Linked DNA regions of Homo sapiens: all the other regions are linked to region 1. Evidence: promoter capture Hi-C in 16 types of primary human blood cells and fetal thymus (Javierre and others, 2016). All regions are on one chromosome and are shown on one strand. Each heading gives the region's core, a stretch centred on a gene start or on the middle of the fragment in contact. The rest is flanking DNA. Distances are from core to core; before and after follow the strand shown. Region 1 holds the start of G6PD (glucose-6-phosphate dehydrogenase). Region 2 has its middle 20 kb from the start of OPN1LW. Region 3 overlaps MECP2 (methyl-CpG binding protein 2). Region 4 overlaps MECP2 (methyl-CpG binding protein 2). Region 5 overlaps F8 (coagulation factor VIII).

Region 1 (2,700 bases), core at 1-2,500:
AGATACCTAGCTGCCAAACTATATGTGAGGCATTTCCGAAGAATTTAACGACCTCGATAGAGCGCAGTCAAGTTTGGTGAACAGAATATGTCTCTGAACTAGAGGAGTCCTCACACAAGGAGTAGGGTCAGACCCCGCAGTGGAGGAGGAGGGAGGAGTAGAAACAGTCCAGCTCGCCGCCCAAGTAACCTGGGTCCTGAATCGGCCCGCCTTGGCCAGTGCTCCAGAAGCGCGGAGCAGGAACGGGCTGGGGCCCAAAAAAGAGGGGGGAGCCTGAACGTCCGGGGGAAGTTTCGGAGGCGGCGGAACGCCCACGGATGGAACCCTGTCTTTGGGGAAAAGGACCACACCTGTCAGCAGAGTCCGTCAGACGTGAGAAGGGTGGGAGCGGCGGACTGTGAACGCTGGTAGGGCCCCGGCGCTCCGAGAAAGTCCCAGTTTCGCGGTCGCCCTTCCCTACCACGCTTCCGGCTTCCGGTGTCATAGCTGTGGGATCCGGAAGTAAAAACACAAGCCCCGCCCCCGAGAACTCGGGAAGCCGGCGAGAAGTGTGAGGCCGCGGTAGGGCCGCATCCCGCTCCGGAGAGAAGTCTGAGTCCGCCAGGCTCTGCAGGCCCGCGGAAGCTCGGTAATGATAAGCACGCCGGCCACTTTGCAGGGCGTCACCGCCTACACGCCCCCTCGTCTCTCGGACGGCGGCGTCTAGCCTCGGGGCGCTCGGCCGCCCCGCCCTCTCCGGGGGAGGAATCAAGAAGAGACTGCCCAATAGGGCCGGCTTGACCCGCGAACAGGCGAGGGTTCCCGGGGGAGTGGCGCGGCAGAAGGCCCCGCCCAGGAGCCGAGGGACAGCCCAGAGGAGGCGTGGCCACGCTGCCGGCGGAAGTGGAGCCCTCCGCGAGCGCGCGAGGCCGCCGGGGCAGGCGGGGAAACCGGACAGTAGGGGCGGGGCCGGGCCGGCGATGGGGATGCGGGAGCACTACGCGGAGCTGCACCCGTGCCCGCCGGAATTGGGGATGCAGAGCAGCGGCAGCGGGTATGGCAGGCAGCCGGCGGGCCGGCCTCCAGCGCAGGTGCCCGAGAGGCAGGGGCTGGCCTGGGATGCGCGCGCACCTGCCCTCGCCCCGCCCCGCCCGCACGAGGGGTGGTGGCCGAGGCCCCGCCCCGCACGCCTCGCCTGAGGCGGGTCCGCTCAGCCCAGGCGCCCGCCCCCGCCCCCGCCGATTAAATGGGCCGGCGGGGCTCAGCCCCCGGAAACGGTCGTACACTTCGGGGCTGCGAGCGCGGAGGGCGACGACGACGAAGCGCAGGTAACCGGCCGGGCGGGCGCCGCGCAGGCGGAGGAGCGTACTGTCCCGCGCTGCGCCGCGCGGCGGTAAAATACACGCTGTTTGTTGTGCTTGAGAACCGAGCAGAATCGAGAGGGTCTTAACCAATCCCTTTATACCCCGCACCTCCTCTCTTGAGCCCCTGAGACCCCGAGAGCGAAGGGGACTTGCCGACCGGGGTCACCCAGCTTGGCAAGGGGAGGGCTGGAGCTGAACTCCAGCATCTGCACCATCTCCCATGCTCCAGGTCATTGTGGAGTTCCCGCTACAGTCGGGAATGAGATGGTCCTGGGCACGCAGTTCCATGCCCCACAAGGATTTTACTCGGTTGTCCAGAATTGATGCTGTAGTCGGAATACACCAATGCTTTGAGTAATTTTGTAATGTACACCCTGAATGAAGGCTGCCTAGGAGAGAGTGGCTGGAGCCCAGAGCCAGCAGTTTCTAACCCATCAACCACTCCCCAATGCCCAGCCGTTCACAAGGAGTGATTTGGGCAATCAGGTGTCACCCTGGTGTGAGACCCCAGAGGAACTCTCAAGAAAGGGGCTAACTTCTCAATGCTCTCCTGTTCTTCTGCCTTGTTAACGAGCCTTTCTTCCACCAGACAGCGTCATGGCAGAGCAGGTGGCCCTGAGCCGGACCCAGGTGTGCGGGATCCTGCGGGAAGAGCTTTTCCAGGGCGATGCCTTCCATCAGTCGGATACACACATATTCATCATCATGGGTGCATCGGTGAGTATCTCCCAGGCCCCAATCTTAAAAGCCAGGAAGTGCCTGCTCCATGCCTCAGCTTTTCCAACTAATTGTTGCAGGGCCCCACAGGCTCTGCTAAGTTGAGCTCCTCCTCCCGCTCCTGCTAGTGCGCCAGGATCATCCCGGCTCTACCTGGTGTGCATATGCACTTGCAAGACTTTTTTTTTTTTTTTTTTTTGGAGACGGAGTTTTGCTCTGGTCGCCCAGGATGGGGTGCAGTGGCGCCATCTTGGCTCACTGCAACCTCGGCCTCCTGGGTTCAAGCGATTCTCCTGCCTCAGCCCCCCAAGTAGCTGAGATTACAGGCATGCACCACCACACCCGGCTAATTTTTGTATTGTTAGTAGAGACGGAGTTTCACCATGTTGACCAGGCTGGTCTCAAACTCCTGACCTCAAGTGATCCGCCCGCCTCGGCCTCCCAAAGTGCTGGGATGACAGGCATGAGCCACCACGCCCGGCTGCAGGACGTTTCTGAACCCTGTGCCTAGCCGCTGAATGTAGCCCTTAATCCTGGAGTTGCAGGCTCTTTAGGGACTGTCTAGATGGACTTCTTGGGGAAAACAGGGAATGCTATTCATTCTGTAGTTTTTTCAGACCTGTTCATGCCTTAACAAATG
Region 2 (2,700 bases), core at 5-2,504, 420 kb after region 1:
TGCACCACGAGGCTGCTGCGGAGCGGGGGCTGGGGGTGGGGGGTGCCGGGGCTGAGGCTGGGGCGCGGGGCGGGGAGTGATTCAAGACTGTCCTTCCTACCCTTGTCACGGCCTCTTTCAGTGATGTGAAGTTCAACCAGGTCCTGTGATCGCTCACCTGATTTTTGGATATTAGGAAAGTGCTTTTTTGTGTGGCTAGTTGTTCAATTTGGTGTTCCCGCAGTGGGGATGATCACTGGAGGCTTCTATTTGGCCATGCTGTTCTGCCTCTCTCTCTATCTTCTGTGTTGATAAAGCCCTTTCAATATTAGTAAGTGTATTTAACACAGTAGAGATTCCTGAAGCTTCTTCATGACTGTTCAATTTGGGCCTGATAGCAATATGCGTTTCCTTGTTTCTTATCCTGTGACTGAGCAAGCAGGACATTGTAACAGTGGAGGAAAAATCCCCAGTTTTCCATGTTCTCTCATCCAAAAACTTTTTGAGAGAAAGAGTACATTTAGGAAGCAGGACGACCATTTAGATTTTTACTAATAGCCTGGTTTTATATGGTTGGTTTTATATGGCTATTTATAAATGTTTTGATTTAACTTGTTAAAGTGTAATATCCCAAAATTCTATGATTTATTTTTCTCTTTTCCCATTGCAATATTTATTTATTTATTTATTTATTTTGAGACAGAGTCTTTCTCTGTTGCCCAGGCTTGGGTGCACTGGTGCAATCTCGGCTCACTGCAACCTCCGCCTCCCGGGTTCAAGCGATTCTCTTGCCTCAGCCTCCTGAGTAGCTGGGACTACAGGTGCACCCCACCATGCCCGGATAATTTTTGTATCTTTGGTAGAGACCCAGTTTTGCCATGTTGGCCAGGCTAGTCTCAAACTCCCAACCTCAGATGATCCACCTGCCTCAGCTTCCCAAAGTGCTGGGGTTACAGGCATGAGGCACCACACCCCGCCCCATTCCAGTATTTAAAAACGACTTTTGTGCACAGAAAAGAGATAACATGATGATTTGTTCCCCACAACTTCAACTTATTTAATTTAATTAAAATTTCTAAACAGGTTACCATGTATATAGGAAGGAAAACCCACATTGTATAGAGACCAAAATTTATATAATTTAGGGTTCCTCTTTAAGAATACTAAATCACTTGCAAATGTGTCCATTCATTTAGAAAAAGATAAGAAATCACAACAAATTACAAATTTTAAAAAGCTGACAAATACAACAAAAGGCAGCAAAGTACAATGTTTTTGTTCCTATTATATTTTGTACTGAAGCTACCTGTGTTATCTTTTTTCCCCACATTTTGGCTGCATAGTGTTAGATCGCATCTTCATCTGACAATGATATTGTGACATAATTCTCACTAGAGGGAACAGAAAGATAAAGCAGTCTTCCTTCCACTCTGCTTGACTGAAATGTTTTCTGATTGCTATCACACAGTCTTTGTTTGTTTCCTTATCAGTAAAGCTGCACCAGAAACTTCCTCTGTCATTTCCTGCTCAGAGGCGCTCCCTGCCCCAGGACTAGCTCTCTGGGTGTGGCCTGTGGTCCGTGGTGTGGCCTGTGGTGTGGCCCATCAGTCCGCCCAGGGGTCACTCGCCCTCTGTGTGGCCAGTTGCTGGGTTGCTGTTCCTGCAGCAGCTGCCCTACCCTGGCCAGGCCCTTACTGTCCCTGGTTCTCTCCATCCCAGGACCATCCTAATAACCGTTTCTCCTTTTTTCTTTTTCTTTTTTTTTTTTTGGAGACGGAGTCTCTCTCTGTTGCCCAGGTTGGAGTGCAGTGGCATGATCTCAGCTCACTGCAAGCTCCGCCTCCCAGGTTCAAGCGATTGTCTTGCCTCAGCCTCCTCAGCCTCCCGAGTAGCTGGGATTACAGGTGCTCACCACCACGCCCGGCTAATGTTTGTATTTTTAGTAGAGAAGCAGTTTCACCATGTTGGCCGGGCTGGTCTCGAACTCCCGACCTCAAGTGATCCGCGCACCTTGGCCTCCCAAAGTGCTGGGATAACAGGCGTGAGCCACCGCGCCCGGCCCATCCTAATAACCTTGAAGCCTGATTGTAGCCTCCCCTCTCCCACCTGTCCTCAACCATGCAGGGAGTGGAGCAGTGCCTCACAGGGTTCCTCCTCCTGGAAGTCAAAGAAAAGTCAAGCTTTTGATGAGGTCTGGCAGCCCCCGTGCTACCACTGACCAGGGTGTGAGGGTGGCCCAGGCCTCTAGTGCCCAGCTGGGGTAGCTGCCCAGTCCCCAACTGTGTGGAGAGATTCTCACCGTGGGGAAACTCTAACTTTGAGAGTTTGTCTTAAAAGGCCAGCACTTTTATAGTATCAGAGGTTTGGCCCTACATTTTAAAATGTTTTTCTCTGGTGAGTCTTTGAAGCCAATCAATCAGAATAGTGGTTCCATCAGCTGGGAGAGCCTCAGCATCTTCATTCATTCATTTCCTTTGCAAATGGGCAAAAGTATCCTTTGGGGGAAACTCCTCCCCTTTACTCTAGTTCTAGCTGTACAGAAAAAAAGCCACCATCACCCAGCAGGATCGTCTTTTTTTTTTTAATTTAAAAAAAAATTTAGGGACAAGGTCTTGCTCCGTCACGCAGGCTGGAGTGTAGTGGCATGATTATAGCTGACTCCAGCCTCAAACTCCTGGGTTTAAGTGATCCTCCCACTTCAGCCTCCCAAAGGGTTGGGGT
Region 3 (2,700 bases), core at 155-2,654, 450 kb after region 1:
TGATCCAGGAACCATACCTACTTGGATGTGATACTGAGTGGCCTAGACGTTGTAGGACTCTCATAAGTTTTAGACATTTTGTTATACTGTAAAAATGAAGCATATACGGCCTCAGTAGTAACATTGCACTAATAGGTAATTATTACTCTAGAGAATTTTGGGTTCCATGGCTGGAATGTTCATCAGTATCTCAGCAATTTCAGTTAATAACCAGATTAAGCTGACCTCTTGAGTCTTTTGAAATCTGCTGGGTCCCTATAATAAGACAGGGTCTGGATTTTTTAATCTTTTGGGAATTTCCACCAAGGATTTAGGGAAATAGGCTTTTATGGGCTTTTCAGGATTTCTATTTCAAATCCCAATGAGGAAGTCTAGGAAACACTTGCTTTTATTTTCTTGCCTGAATATGTCAGAACCTTAAATCACCCAATCAATCTAGAAGTACTACAGTTGATTAAAGTAAGTCACCACAGGTCACCCATTCGTGGCAGGTCAGCTAGGTGGCTGATCACTGGAATACAGTCATATCCCCAGGCATACACACGAGCCTCACTTGACGATCCCAAAGTTTGTACATCTGAGCTTGAGACGTGACAAGTTGAGGTCTCTGCTTTGTTCTTCATAGTTGGCAGTTTGTCTCCTCGGGTGCCCCTCCGGTTAGCTGTTTATCATACGTCTAGCCCTATCAACAGTGCAGGCAGCTTCCAGAGTATAGTTTTCTCTGCAAAGTGCCTGGTGGAGGGGTACCTCCTTTTCCATTGTCCTAATGGCTCCACTGGGCTTCCATACCAGCCCTTTCCAGTGTCTTAACAGCTCAAAGAAACCCATCTGTGGCTTTCTTGTTAGCACTGGCCTATCACACCTTCCTATTGCCTGTTAACTAAAATTTTGCCTGGAATGCTTTAAGCTTAGAGTACTGGGTCTTTGTTTCACCCGATTGATAGGAGAGTGTCATGCAGTCAGCCGAACTCCGACTTCTGTGCTGTTTAAATCCTTAGGTAGGTCTGGGGCAAGGCACAAACCACTGTGTATTCAAAGGGTTATGGTGCTTGCATTCTGTGTGTATATGTTTGTAATTTCCAACCAGAGTCGTTTCCCGTGCCTGCCCTGCCTCTGTGCAATCTAGTCTAGTAGGGTAGGGAGGCAAGCTGTGGAGTTTGAAAAAAAAAAAAAAAAGCTAGATGAGTTTAATAGGCTGTTACCCCCTCCAGAACATTCCTCCCATGTGGAGATGAAACGAGAAGTTCATTTCTTTAACCTAAAATAAAGAACAACAGAGATAAAATTGTTAGTTCCTTATTGGAGCCTGGTTTCCATTGCTAATGTACCTGCTTGGGACTCTGCATGATAAATGACGTGTCCTGGAACCTGAAATCTTTTATAAAGGTTAATATCAGCAGAAATCTTTTAATTAGCTAAGAGCAGCTTGTTCTCAAGCTGCCCGAGTTATCTTGGAGGAGAGAATCACAGGAAATGTTTGATATTTCTAGTAACCAGTGTTTTCAGTGCGTGGGGTAAAGCACACTCCTAGACTGGCCAGTCCCAAAGAGTGTGGCAGGACACCTGCTTGTTTTCCCTGCCCTCTGCTATGGTGACATCCTTGCAGACCAGTCTTGCGTGGCTGGCAGACGCAATCTTTTTTTCTTGGGTAGAGCATTATCACCGCTGCGATGGAAGGACCTTGTCCTCGGTGCCTCCATACCAGCCCTTTCCAGTGAAACTACTGCTGTCCCGGCAAGCCCCTGTGCGTGTGCATCATTCCGGGTAGGACAAGATGTGAACAGGTCCCTCTTCTTTGGGCTTAAGTAGAAGTTGTGCTCTTCTGCTTTTACCTGTGTGCTCTTCTGCTTTTACCTGTTCTCTTCTGCCTTTCTCTTGCAAGAAACCTGTCGAAAGCTTGCTTTGCATGCCATTGCTTAAATACTTTGATGGTATGTATGGTATGTGGGATAACTGAGTGGGAGCCGGAATTGGGGGGTGGGCAGGGCATCCCCACCCCCACCCCCACATCAAAGGGGGAATGACCATTTCGTTAGAGAATAAAGCCTGAGTCTTATAACTTCTTCAAGCACATGTATGCTGGGTCTCCTGGCGTGTGAATGTGTTCCCGCTGTGCTGTGTGGCTGTTTTGCAGTTACTGTAGACACTGTAGTCTGGGCTCTCATTATTGCCTCTGAAGTTGACAGGACCAAGCCTTAGTAAGGATGCACTTGTCTTCCTAGCCCAAGAGCTAGGGGTGTTTTATATATATATTAACTTTCTTTTTTAGATTTCATAAACTGCTCTCATTTTCTCTTTTCTTTCTTTCTTTTTTTTTTTTTTTTTTTGAGACAGTCTCACTCTGTCACCCATGCTGGAGTGCAGTGGCACGATCTCAGCTCACTGCAACCTCTGCCTCCCGGGCTCAAGCAGTTCTCTGCCTCAGCCTCCCAAGTAGCTGGGATTACAGGCACCTGCCACCACGCCTGGCTAATTTTTGTATTTTTTTTTTTTTTTTTTTTTTTTTTTAGTCGAGACGGGGTTTCACCATCTTGGCCACGCTGGTCTTGAACTCCTGACCTCGTGATCCACCCGCTTCAGCCTCCCAAAGTGCAGGGATTACAGGCGTGAGCCACCGCACCCAGCCTCTGGCTCTTTTCTTTTTGACATGAAATCTTAAGTTAATTATCTTAAACTTTAAGAACTAGAAGGATTCTTAGT
Region 4 (2,700 bases), core at 192-2,691, 490 kb after region 1:
AGACAGGGTCTCCCTCTGTCACCCAGTCTGGAGTGCAGTGGTGCAATCTCAGCTCACTGCAACCTCCGCCTCCTGGGCTCAAGTGGTCCTCCCACCTCAGCCTCCTGAGTAGCTGGGATTACAGGCTTGCACCAGCGCGCCTGGCTAAGTTTTTGTATTTTTAGTAGAGACAGGGTTTTGCCATGTTGCCCAGACTGGTCTCAAACTCCTGGGCTCAAGCAGTTCACCAGCCTTGGCCTCTAAAAGTGTTGGGATTACAGGTGTGAGCCACCACGCCCGGCCATCCCAGTTTTTTATTTTCCTCCTTTCTGTGTCTTTATGCATCAGTGAGGTGGAGCTTTTGAAAATGTCAGATAGCTAGATTTTTTTTTTTTGAGACGGAGTTTTGCTCTTGTTGCCCAGGCTGGAGTGCAATGGCGTGATCTCGGCTCACTGCAACCTCCACCTCCCAGGTTCAAAACAATTCTCCTGCCGCAGCCTCCTGAGTAGCTGGGACTACAGGCACGTGCCACCACACCCGGCTAATTTTGTATTTTTAGTAGAGATGTGGTTTCACCATGTTGGCCAGGCTGGTCTCAAACTCCTCACCTCAGCTGATCACCCGCCTCAGCCTCCCAAAGTGTTGGAATTACAGACGTGAGCCACCATGCCCAGCTGATAGCTAGATTTTTTTTTTTTTTTTTTTTTTGAGACGGAGTCTTGCTCTGTCGCCCAGGCTGGAGTGCGGTGGCGCGATCTCGGCTCACTGCAAGCTCCGCCCCCCGGGTTCATGCCATTCTCCTGCTTCAGCCTCCAGAGTAGCTGGGACTACAGGTGCCCGCCACCACGCGTGGCTGATTTTTTTTTTTTTTTTTTTTTTGTATTTTTAGTAGAGACGGGGTTTCACCGTGTCAGCCAGGATGGTCTCGATCTCCTGACCTCGTGATCCGCCCGCCTCAGCCTCCCAAAGTGCTGGGATTACAGGCGTGAGCCACCGCACCCGGCCTCGAGATTTTTTAAAAAATCCATTGTCTGTTTCGTCCTTTAACATCTATTTGATTTCTGATGTATTTAGATTCATTTATAGCATATTTGTGCATTCTATTTTTCCATATTTTCTGTTCTTTTAAATTTTCCTTCTCCTTTCTTGCCTTCTCTTAGACTTTTAAAAAAATTGTAGTAAAATACACATCACCTAAAATTTACCATTTTTAAATGTACAGTTCAGTGGCATTAAATACAAATTGGAGGCCAGGCATGGTGGCTCATGCCTGGAATCCCAGCACTTTGAGAGGCTGAGGTGGGAGGATTGCTTGAACCTGGAGGTCGAGGTTGCAGTGAGGTGTGATCACACTACTGCTATAGCCCAGGCAACAGAGTGAGAACCTATCTAAAAAAACAAACAAACAAACAAACAAACAGATTGGCATCACACAGTGTGTGTGCTGCTGTGCTGTGCTGTTATCATTTAACATTAAAACATAAACATCAGCACTGTTATGGACTGAATGTTTGTGTCCCCCAAAATTCCAGTGTTGAAGCTCAAACCTCCAATGTGATGTTATTTGGAGATGGGGTATTTGAGAGGTGGTTAGGTTTAGATGAAATCAGGAGGGAGGGTGGGTTTCGCATGATGAGATTAGTGTCCTTATAACAAGAGACAGCAGAGAGCTTGCTTTCTCCACCATGTGAGTATGCAATGAGAAGGCAGCCATCTCCAAGTCAGAAAGAGAGCCCTCACCAGGGGCTGAATGTGCTGACACCTTGATCTTGGACTTCTAGCCTCCAGAACTGTGAGAAATTTCAGTTGAATAGGCCCCCCAGTCTGTACTATTTTGTTATAGCTTGAGCAGACTAATACACCCATGTTATGAAAAGCTATAAACATCCCTTTAAAGGCCACCTAACGCGTCGTATTACCTCATGCATCTTCTCTGCTGAGCTTTCCAAAAGAGTGGCTTAGGCTGGGCCTGGTGGCTCATGCCTGTAATCCCAGCACTTTGGGAGGCCAAGGCAGGTGGATCACCTGAGGTCAGGAGTTCAAGACCAGCCTGACCAACATGGAGAAATCCCGTCCCTACTAAAAATACAAAATTAGCTGGGCGTGGTGGCGCATGCCTGTAATCCCAGCTACTTGGGAGGCTGAGCCAGGAGAATCACTTGAACCTGGGAGATGGAGGGTGCAGTGAGCCGAGATCGTGCCATTGCATTCCAGCCCGGCCAACAAGAGCGAAACTCCATCTCAAAAAAAAAGAGTGGCTGGCCGGGCGCAGTGGCTCACGCCTGTAATCCCCGCACTGTGGGAGGCCGAGGTGGGTGGATCACGAGGTCAGGAGTTCAAAACCAGCCTGGCCGAGATGGTGAAACCCCGTCTCTACTAAAAATAGAAAAACTAGCCAGGCGCAGTGGCAGGCGCCTGTAATCCCAGCTACTTGGGTGGCTGAGGCAGGAGAATCGCTTGAACCTGGGGGGCGGAGGTTGCAGTGAGCCAAGATGGTGCCACTGCACTCCAGCCTGGGTGACACAGTGAGACCCCGTCTCAAAAAAAAAAAAAAAAAAAAAAAAAGTGGCGTATGTTCCCGGTCTCCACCTCTCATTCGCCAGCCCCTGTGACCAAACCCCTGGGATTAGATCTCCATCGGGTCCCTCCCCTCACCCTAACCTCACATGCAGTGGTTCCTGAGAAGCTGCTGTTTATCTGATCACGGGATCCAGCAGGAT
Region 5 (2,700 bases), core at 10-2,509, 290 kb before region 1:
AAGCCTGACAATTAATGAGCTAAGGTATGTCTCAAGAAGCTAGTGAAACAGCAAAATAAACCAAAAGGAAGTAGAAGCAAGGAAATAATAAAGATATGAAGTAAATGAAGTAAAAAAGAAACATACAATAGAGAGAATAAAGAAAACCAAAAGTTGGTTCCTTGAAAATTGACAAACTTCTGGCAAGAGCAATCAAGATGAAAAGAAGGCACAAATAATATCAGAAACTTTAAAAAACTGGACATCAATAAAGATCCCACAAAAATTTCTGCCAATATAAAAATATAAAAAATGAGGATACTTATTAATATTAAATGTTCTTTCTTGTTGTATTTACCAGGGATTAATCCATTTTACCTAATTTTCCAAACTTAGTGTTAAAAGGTTATTAATTTAAAAAATCCAGATCCAGATGGCTACACTAACTATATTCTACCAATTTTTCAAAGGAGAAATAATATTAACCTTGCAAAAATTCTTTCAGAAAATGGAAAAAGATGGAATGTTATTCAATTATCTTATGATAATAGCATAACCTTGACAACCAAACCGAACAAGAACAATATTAGAAAGGAAGATAATAGGCCCGTTTTATTCATAAACATAAATCCCAAACAAAATATTAGCAATATGGATCCAAATTGGATTTATGCTAGGAATGCAAGTTTGGCTTATACATTAGAAAACTGATATAATTTATCACAGTGACAGACTGAAGGATTATACATATTGGCTGTCCTAAGCAGTGCAATAAGATGAGAAAAAGAAGGAAAATATGTAAGGATTGAATATGATGAAACAAACTCATTGTATGTGGAAGATATGATGGCATAGATAGAAAATCCAAAGGAATTTATATATAAATTATTAGAATTTTTAAAATTTTTCAAGCTTGCTGAAAACAAAATAAATACCAAAATTAATTGTATTTCTGTATACCTGAAACAGTTGGAAAAATAGTTTTAAATAGCATTTAAAAATTCCAAGCAGGAGTTGCACATTCCTGTCAGATAATGGCAGCTGCCTAAATCTCTCCACAGTCTTCAAAAACCATACATACACATACACACACAATTTTAAATTATGACTAAAACCACCCATAACCCATCTATAGAATAACCAGAAGACAAAAAGTACTATAAGTTTATATTTACAAGTAGAAAATAAATATATAAATCTAGCCAACCTTGCTCCAGAGAGAAACCCTGTCTCAAAAAAAAAAAAAAAAAAAAAAAGAAGAAAGCAAATGTTGGAAATTAACTGTCCTATAAAAACAAAAGTGAATTACTAAATCACAAGACCCACAAACCTCTTTGGTCACATCTATTAAATAAATTACACTTCCATTTATCAACAGTAGAGGGTACTCCTGGCTAAGAAACCTAGTAAGCCACCCAGCCCTCATGTCTGCCTGCATAAATCACCTCTTATTGCTGAAACAAGAAAATGTAAGGAATTTCTAAATGAACAGAAAATAGCATATGAAGCAGATGGTATTAATGTTCTTGAGTTTTTATTCCCTCTTTCCTTGAAAACCTCATCAACTTTAGGCATGGCCGTACGGCTCATCTTGATCAATAGAATGTGATTGGACATGACATATATACCACTTCCAAATAGAAGCTTTAAATGTGATTTTGTGTTTGACACACTCTTTTGTGCCTCTGCTCCAGGCTCCAGACTTTAAGCCTCTAGAACGATAAGTGAATAAATTTCTTTTGTTTTAAAGGCACCAAGTGTGTGGTGAATTTGTTACAGTAGCCCTAGAAATCTAATACTAACAAAAAGAATGTTAGAGTTGAATTAGAAGTGTCAGTGAGAACTTAGGAATTTAAAAAATCATATTCTTAGCACTGTTCACTGAGGGAATCTAGAAGTAATTACACTGCAGTAATAACGAGCCCATCCCATGCCCAAATCTTGGTCTCTAACTACCATTTTCCAGTCAAAAGAATCTGAGCTCCCTAGAGAAATGACTTTTTCAAGGCTGGATCAAGGAAACTGCCAGGCAATCTTAGATGATCTTGGTGATCTTGATGTGCCAGAAGATTAATGGGATCATGTGAAAAGAACACAGAAACTGGTCTGAAGGGCTTCCTGTTGGCCAGATTTGAGACAATTTGAGCATCAAAAGGAATAATGAGGGTAATGGATCATAACTGGAAAATCAGTTTGCAACCATCAATGTACTTACTATTGAATACTTGTAAAGAACTTTAAGGGTTGCTAATACCATTGGATAAAAGCTTGTTGTGAAACAGAATATTTGCATGGTCTCAAAGTCTCACTCCACAGATTGTTAGGAAAGGGAAAGGGTTACCTTTATAAATATAGAGATTAGGTGGACATCTTAACCAAGTGATCAAACTTAGCATCATCAATAATGGGACAATCTGGCATCGCATGCCCCCTGATTTAATGCAGTAAGGATTAAGTCTAACAAAAGATGTACAAAGCCTCCAAATACAGCGTAAACATTTGTAAAATAATCTCAGAACAGGGACCTTAATGTTTCTCAAAAATTTTTCCAAATACAGAACTTTATTTCTATAGATGTTTATGGTATATTTGCCATGCTATATACATTATGCTATATATTCTATGTGCTGAAGATACAACAATGACCAAGGTCTTTGCCCTTGTGGAACTGACATTTGGTGGCGGAGACAGAGGAAACAGTCAATAAGCATGTAAAGAGAT

What was found. The method cuts DNA at HindIII sites, captures the fragments that hold promoters and counts their contacts. A CHiCAGO score of 5 or more calls a contact.
Region 2: a contact is called between a fragment that was not itself captured here and the fragment with the promoter of G6PD in region 1, in 3 of 17 cell types (total CD4 T cells, naive CD8 T cells and naive B cells). The highest score is 6.8, in total CD4 T cells.
Region 3: a fragment that was not itself captured here is called in contact with the fragment with the promoter of G6PD in region 1 in 4 of 17 cell types (total B cells, activated CD4 T cells, total CD8 T cells and 1 more); the score reaches 8.2 in total B cells.
Region 4: a contact is called between a fragment that was not itself captured here and the fragment with the promoter of G6PD in region 1, in 6 of 17 cell types (total CD8 T cells, non-activated CD4 T cells, naive CD8 T cells and 3 more). The highest score is 9.2, in total CD8 T cells.
Region 5: a fragment that was not itself captured here is called in contact with the fragment with the promoter of G6PD in region 1 in 3 of 17 cell types (fetal thymus, total B cells and megakaryocytes); the score reaches 6.2 in fetal thymus.

The regions. Positions count from the first base shown.
Region 1 is chrX:154,545,396-154,548,095 of GRCh38, reverse strand. It overlaps G6PD (glucose-6-phosphate dehydrogenase), which reads left to right and starts at 1,250. Exons shown (of 13, transcript NM_001360016.2): 1 at 1,250-1,307; 2 at 1,933-2,060. The coding sequence starts at 1,941. It overlaps IKBKG (inhibitor of nuclear factor kappa B kinase regulatory subunit gamma), which reads right to left and starts at 476. Exons shown (of 10, transcript NM_001099857.5): 1 at 351-476. RefSeq lists enhancers at 89-368, 1,671-2,214 and a silencer at 809-1,368. The HindIII fragment of the contact is 7,888 bases long and covers 1-2,700 here.
Region 2 is chrX:154,122,808-154,125,507 of GRCh38, reverse strand. No RefSeq gene overlaps it. Among named protein-coding and RNA genes, the nearest start is that of OPN1LW, 20 kb to the left of the region's middle. The HindIII fragment of the contact is 1,815 bases long and covers 347-2,161 here.
Region 3 is chrX:154,093,442-154,096,141 of GRCh38, reverse strand. All of the region lies in intron 1 of MECP2 (methyl-CpG binding protein 2), which reads left to right. Among named protein-coding and RNA genes, the nearest start is that of MECP2, 2.9 kb to the left of the region's middle. The HindIII fragment of the contact is 989 bases long and covers 910-1,898 here.
Region 4 is chrX:154,052,300-154,054,999 of GRCh38, reverse strand. All of the region lies in intron 1 of MECP2 (methyl-CpG binding protein 2), which reads left to right. Among named protein-coding and RNA genes, the nearest start is that of MIR718, 34 kb to the right of the region's middle. The HindIII fragment of the contact is 7,842 bases long and covers 1-2,700 here.
Region 5 is chrX:154,839,744-154,842,443 of GRCh38, reverse strand. The region is part of intron 25 of F8 (coagulation factor VIII); the gene reads left to right. Among named protein-coding and RNA genes, the nearest start is that of SMIM9, 6.4 kb to the right of the region's middle. The HindIII fragment of the contact is 732 bases long and covers 894-1,625 here.